Linked DNA regions of Homo sapiens: region 2 is linked to region 1. Evidence: promoter capture Hi-C in human tissues and cell types (Jung and others, 2019). All regions are on one chromosome and are shown on one strand. Each heading gives the region's core, a stretch centred on a gene start or on the middle of the fragment in contact. The rest is flanking DNA. Distances are from core to core; before and after follow the strand shown. Region 1 holds the start of PLAC8L1 (PLAC8 like 1). Region 2 has its middle 16 kb from the start of GRXCR2.

Region 1 (3,204 bases), core at 535-3,034:
CCGAGATCGCACCACTGCACTCCAGCCTGGGCGACAGAGCGAGACTCCATCACAAAAAAAAAAAAAAAAAAAAGAAAAAATCTTTTTTTCTCTTCCTTTTTCTTCCCTCCTTCCTCTTTTGCCCCTCTTCTTTCCTTGCTCATGTAATACTATTGTAAAGGTGTACCTTAGTTTATTCAACCAGTCTCCATGGATGGACATATAGGTTGTTTCTAAGTTTTTAATATTTTATAGAATGTGTATGGAATGATATAGTGAGTAACCTCATGAATAATGTCATTTCACTTTTGTGGAGGTATATCTTCAGAGTAAATTTGTAGAAGTGGGCTTGTGGGTCTGAGGGTAAATGCATATGTAGTTTTGTTAGCACGTATGTGGTCAAAAGCATTTTTTGCCCTGAGGCAGGGGCATGTAGCTGGTGTGCTGAAGGAATAGCAAGGAAGCCACATGAAGAAACAGGTCAAAGTCACTGGCTCAAGATCCTATGTATTAGCAGCAGAGTTGAATTAGAGCCCTGGCCTCCATCTTCATTGCACTTAGACAACAAAGAATTCGTGCATGGAAAACAGGAATGTATTTGACCAAGGCCAGTGTTACCAGGGCCATTAGGAGGTCAGAGAAAGGAGAAGTTTATATGGACCCCAGTCAGGTAGAAAATACTTCACCCCAAAATTTACAGCATCAATAAGATTTGTAATGGCCCTCTGCTGTGCATAGAGCTTGTATTAGTGTGTTTTCTTTTCTTTTTCTTTTTTTTTTTTTTGAGACAGAATCTTGCTCTGTCATCTAGACTGGAGTGCAGTCGAATGATCTTGGCTCACTGCAACCTCTGCCTTCCAGGTTCAAGCGATCCTCTTGCCTCAGCCTCCTGAGTAGCTGGGATTACAGTGCCTGCCACCACGCCTGGCTAATTTTTGTATTTTTAAGTAGAGATGGGGTTTCACCACGTTGGCCAGGCTGGTCTGAAACTCCTGACCTCAGATGATCTGCCCGTCTCAGCCTCCCAAAGTGCTGGGATTACAGGTGTGAGCCACTGCATCTGGCCTAGTGTGTTTTTATACTGCTATAAAAAACTACCTGAGACTGGGTAATTTATTTAAAAAAGAGTTTTAATTGACTCAGTTCCACAGGCTATACAGGAGGCATGGCTGGGGAGGCCTCAGGAACCTACAATCATGGAGGAAGGGTGAAGGGTAATGTTAAAGATACATTTTGATCACTTCTAGGACCTTCTGATGTAAAGGCATATTTGTTAAAATCACACCCAGAGCTTTTATTGTAAGGGTACTTTTTTTTTCTTACACTTTCAGAACTTTCCAATGTAAATATGCATTTTGAGTACTTCTGGAATTTTTCATAGTTAAGGTACATTTTCTCTTTTGCAATTAGAAATATGTGGAATAGTTATATTTTTGCACCTTGAGAATATTTGGTTCCTAATCTTTTTTATCTAATGGTTTTAATGCTTCTGAATTTCCTTCCTGATATGTTGTTATGCTGGGGCTATGCAAAATGGTGATATTCTAATGCTATTATTTCTTTTTCATAAATATTTGGCATTCTTTTATAAAGCACATGCCTTTTCTATTCTTTTCATTTTATTTTTAAATGAAAAAGCTGTGTAGCATGTGGATTAGTCACTTCATACAATAGACGTTTGATTAGAAAAGTTGGGCGCAAATGAAATGTAAAAATATGGAGTCATAGCTTATATGTACCATGGTGGTTTACTCTTCAAAGGAATCTTACTGTAAATCTTTTTTTTTTTTTTTTTTTTTTTTTGCAAAGCTAGTAATCACCTCTTAATTTCTGTTATTCTTATAAACCTGAATTTTCATGTAGGGCACATTTATTCAACAAATTATTGAGTGCTTTTTATGTGCCAGACACTGTGGTCAGCACTTGGAATAGAGTAGTAAGCAGAAAAAACATACCTGTCCTTAATGTAGGGTACATCCTTACTGTTAAGAAGACAATGACAGTTGCCCAGAACCCCATGATTGAAGGCAGTTATGAAGCTATGTCTGAGGAATCTTGATTTGGAAGGTATTATAGGCTTTTCCTAACAACCTGGTTCAATAAATGCTTTGAAGTTCAGAACCCTAAGCAACCATTCTCTATGGGTCTGATGAAAAGAATATATGATATAATTGGCAGTATCCTCCTGATGTCTTTCTAATGTAATGTCAAATTATGATTGCAGAGCCCTTTCCTCAACGTGAAATTTTGCCTAATTTTTTGTCTTAGGATATTTCCTAATATTTCTAGGGTCCACACCTCCATAAGACATGTGCCAGAGGCATGATTCAGAGGCTCCTGAGACCTTGAGGATTCAGAGCTGTTGTGAGGACATCACCAGGCAAGCCTTGCTTCAGTTACTAGATTCCGTCTGGACTGGGTAGGAAAGAAATGCCACTTTCCTGGCATTATCAATGAAGTTAATGGAAGAGCAGAGAATTTCTAGAAGTTCTGAAAAGGCTTTGAGGCTTGTGACAATCTACCATAGCTCAAACTTGAGGAGACCACCTTTCATAAGATGGATTCAAATACAATACCTGCGCTGAAAGACTTTTTTTTGCTCCTGCTTTTGGGTTGGCTATGGGACTTGCATCATCTGGCTGAATTGGACCAGCAGTTCAGGGGATGAAGAGAGGTCTCTGCTGCTTCTCAGTCACATGGCATGGCAGAAATTTTCAGCCTTCTGAATCTTCCAAGGAACGGTCAAGTGGCACTTAGCTAGATAAATGTTTACTAGAGGCATCTCTTAAAGAGTTTTCCACCAAAGATAAGTCTTTTTCTTCTATTTACTCTATACTCCAGCAATATCTCCCTACAGATTAGTAAGATGAATGTGTCCACAGTTAGGTGTATACCTGTTTTTAAAGAAAAAAGATGTCTGTTAGTTACACTGCTATGACCTCAGGTTCCAGAATATTAAGGGAACATTCTTTCAAGAGATGTTTCACTTTGGACTAATCCGAAGTTTAGAAACCAGCTTATTGCCAAAGGGAAAAAGGATAGCCCAAAGGACAAGAAAACACTTCTCACTATGAATTGGTTTGGAAGTAACTTCTTCAGGTGTCCTGAGGATCTTTCCTTACTCAACATATACTCACCTCTGTTGTCACACATGTCATCTGAAGATGAACATTTTATTTCCAACTTGAGGTAGGGAATAGGGTGAGTTTTTCCCCTAGCTTTTGC
Region 2 (2,996 bases), core at 165-2,664, 220 kb after region 1:
ACAAATTCCCTCAGTGCTTGCTTGACTGGAAAATATTTTATTTCTCCTTCAGTTCTCTTGAATTATTTTTTCAAATATACTTTCCAGGTTGTTTGCTTTTTCTGCTTCTCTCTCAGGAATGCCAGTAATTTATAGATTTGGTGACTTCACATAATCCCATATTTCTCGAAGTCTTTGCTCATTTAAAAAAATTCCTGCCAGGTGCAGTGGCTCACACCTGTAATCTCAGCACTTTGGGAGGCTGAGGTGGGCAGATTACTTGAGGTCAGAAGTTCAAGACCAGCCTGGCCAACATGATGAAACTCCTTCTCTACTAAAAATACAAAAATTAGCTAGGCATGGTGGCACATGCCTGTAATCCCAGGTATTCAGGAGGTTGAGGGCAGGAGAAATGCTTGAACCTGGGAGGCAGAGGTTGTAGTGAGCCACAGTTATGTCACTGCACTCCAGCCTGGCAACAGAAGAAGATGCTGTCTTTTTAAAAAACAAACAAACAAAACAAAAACTTTTGTCTTTATTTTTGTCAGATTGGTTTAGTTCAAAAGTCTGGTCTTTAATCTCTGAAATTATTTCTTCTGCTTAGTCCAGTCTATTGACAAAGCTTTCAATTGTATTTTGAAACTCCTTACATGAGTATTTTAATTCCAGAAGCTCAGATTGCTTTCTTTTTAAGATGTTTATCTCTTCCTTCATTTTCTGGACTGCTTTGCTGTCTTTTTAAGATGTTTATCTCTTCCTTCATTTTCTGGACTGCTTTGGAAGTTTCTTTCTGTTGATTTTCAACCTTGTCTTGGATCTCAGTGAGCTTTCTTGCAATCCATGCTTTGAATTCTTTACCTGTCATTTCCGAGTTTCCATTTTGTGTAGGGACCATTGCTAGAAAGCTAATGCAATGCTTTGGTGGTATTGCCACATTCAGATTTTTCATGGTGGCAGAATTCTTGTGCCAGTTCCTTCTCATCTGGAGACACCGGTACTTCTAATTTTTGTATTTATTTTTCTATGGGTAGATTTTTTCCTCTTCTTTCTTTCCTTCAAAAAGTGAGTGATGTGGAGAGCAAAACATGCCCAGAAGTTCCCAAAAGCTTGGAGATGCAACAGCAGATGACAGCTGGGAGTTCTAAGACATATTTTTATTTTTATTTATGTACTGTATTTGCATAGGTTATTGGGGCACAGGTGGTATTTGGTTACATGAGTAAGTTCTTTAGTGGTGATTTGTGAGATTTTAGTGCACCCATCACCCAAGCAGTATACATTGTACCCTATTTGTAGTCTTTTATCCCTTGCCTCCCAACCCCAACACTTCCCCCCAAGTCCCCAGAGTCCATTGCATAATTCTTTCTTTCTTTCTTTCTTTCTTTCTTTCTTTCTTTCTTTCTTTCTTTCTTTCTTTCTTTCTTTCTTTCTTTTTTTGAGACAGAGTCTCGGTCTGTCACCCAGCTCAAGCTGGAGTGCAGTGGTGCGATCTCGGCTCACTGCAACCTCTGCCTCCAGCTTCCAGGTTCAGGCGATTCTCCTGCCTCAGGATTACAGGCGCCTGCCACCACGCCCGGCTAGTTTTTATATTTTTAGTAGAGACAGGGTTTCACCATGTTGGCTAGGCTGGTCTCAAACTCCTGGCCTCAAGTGACCTGCCCACCTCGGCCTCCCAAAGTGCTGGGATTACAGGCGTGAGCCACTGCACCCGGCCCATTGTGTCATTCTTATGCCTTTGTGCCAAGACCTATTTTTCAATAAAAGGAAAAATGAAGTTGTAAAGCTATACACACACAGAGTGTATAACTTCACTTATGTTTTTAAGAAAAACCCATTAAAATTATTTGTATCTTGCATACATATGTATATAAATGCATAAAATGTTGAGAAGGACATATTCTAGATTTATAGTAATAGTTATTTTTTAGGAAAAATGAAGACTTTTTTGTTCTTTACCTGCATCTCTAGTTTTTGAATTTATACAAAACACTGTATTCGTGTATTACTTTTATATTTTTATGTAGATTTTCTAAGCTGGTGTAAATTTTGAAAAAAATTAAGCATATGTGCCAAAACCTTGGCATCCTTGTTACATTCTCCTAGATCAAGTAACCTGCACAGGTTGTTAGCAGAGAGGTTTGAAATGGATCGGGGGTCTCTGACCAGTGGATTGTTCTTGCCCACTTGGCCCGATCCCTACTTCCCCAGACCCACATATTTTTCTACGCTCCACCGTGAGCACCTTGGGAGAAGGCTTACATTGTTTGGGTTGCTGCTGTAGCCCTGTCTTCCAGGACCCCATGCTTTAGACTTAGTAGATACAAAGTATGTATTTGTTTAATTGAAATAGCTCTTTCCTGTCCTCTGGAGCCACACAATCACATCCTTTCCTAGTGCATTCCGTGATGCAGCCTGAGTTCCCTCTCCTCCCTGCAGGTGGCAGAGTCTTCATCAGCTTTAACTAGCCATGCTTACTAGAGCAGTGGCTCTTAATCCATCAGACATAATGCATGCTTTCAGTAACACTTCCTAACCCTCTGCACTATTCTGGAATAAAATTAATAAATTAAACAATTACCTGCAAATATAACTTTAAAAAACCAATATAATGCCCTTGCTCTAATATAAAGAGAAATAAAAGGAAAGTAATTGATATAAAATACTACATATTTTAAAAACAAATGCTTGGATGTGATTTCCCTAGAAGTTATTGTAAAATAGGCACTCTGTGTATGTCTAGGATCCCTGTGATTGGGATGGCTACAAACGCTTTCTGAAACAGTTATGATATTTCAACCAGTGAAATACTTTTACAAAATGGTGGACAACTCTTGGTAGAACTGAACAAGACAAAGTACAAAATGTCTTTAATTTATGTGCATTTTCAGTTCCCCCAAATGTGCTGTATATCAAAGCTAAGCTCCCCACTCCCACTAATAAAATAAAATAAATAGAGAAACAGCTATGTTCTAGGCACAGATAATTATAAACAGGTGTTTCATCTTCTCAGAAGTCTG

Evidence for each region. The method cuts DNA at HindIII sites, captures the fragments that hold promoters and counts their contacts. A contact is called where the count stands out against the background at its distance.
Region 2: a fragment that was not itself captured here is called in contact with the fragment with the promoter of PLAC8L1 in region 1 in 1 of the 25 tissues and cell types used here (mesendoderm cells).

The regions. Positions count from the first base shown.
Region 1 is chr5:146,104,157-146,107,360 of GRCh38, reverse strand. It overlaps PLAC8L1 (PLAC8 like 1), which reads left to right and starts at 1,784. Exons shown (of 4, transcript NM_001029869.3): 1 at 1,784-3,168. The coding sequence starts at 3,050. The HindIII fragment of the contact is 8,663 bases long and covers 1-3,204 here.
Region 2 is chr5:145,887,589-145,890,584 of GRCh38, reverse strand. It overlaps a transcript of GRXCR2 not described here. Among named protein-coding and RNA genes, the nearest start is that of GRXCR2, 16 kb to the right of the region's middle. The HindIII fragment of the contact is 4,676 bases long and covers 1-2,996 here.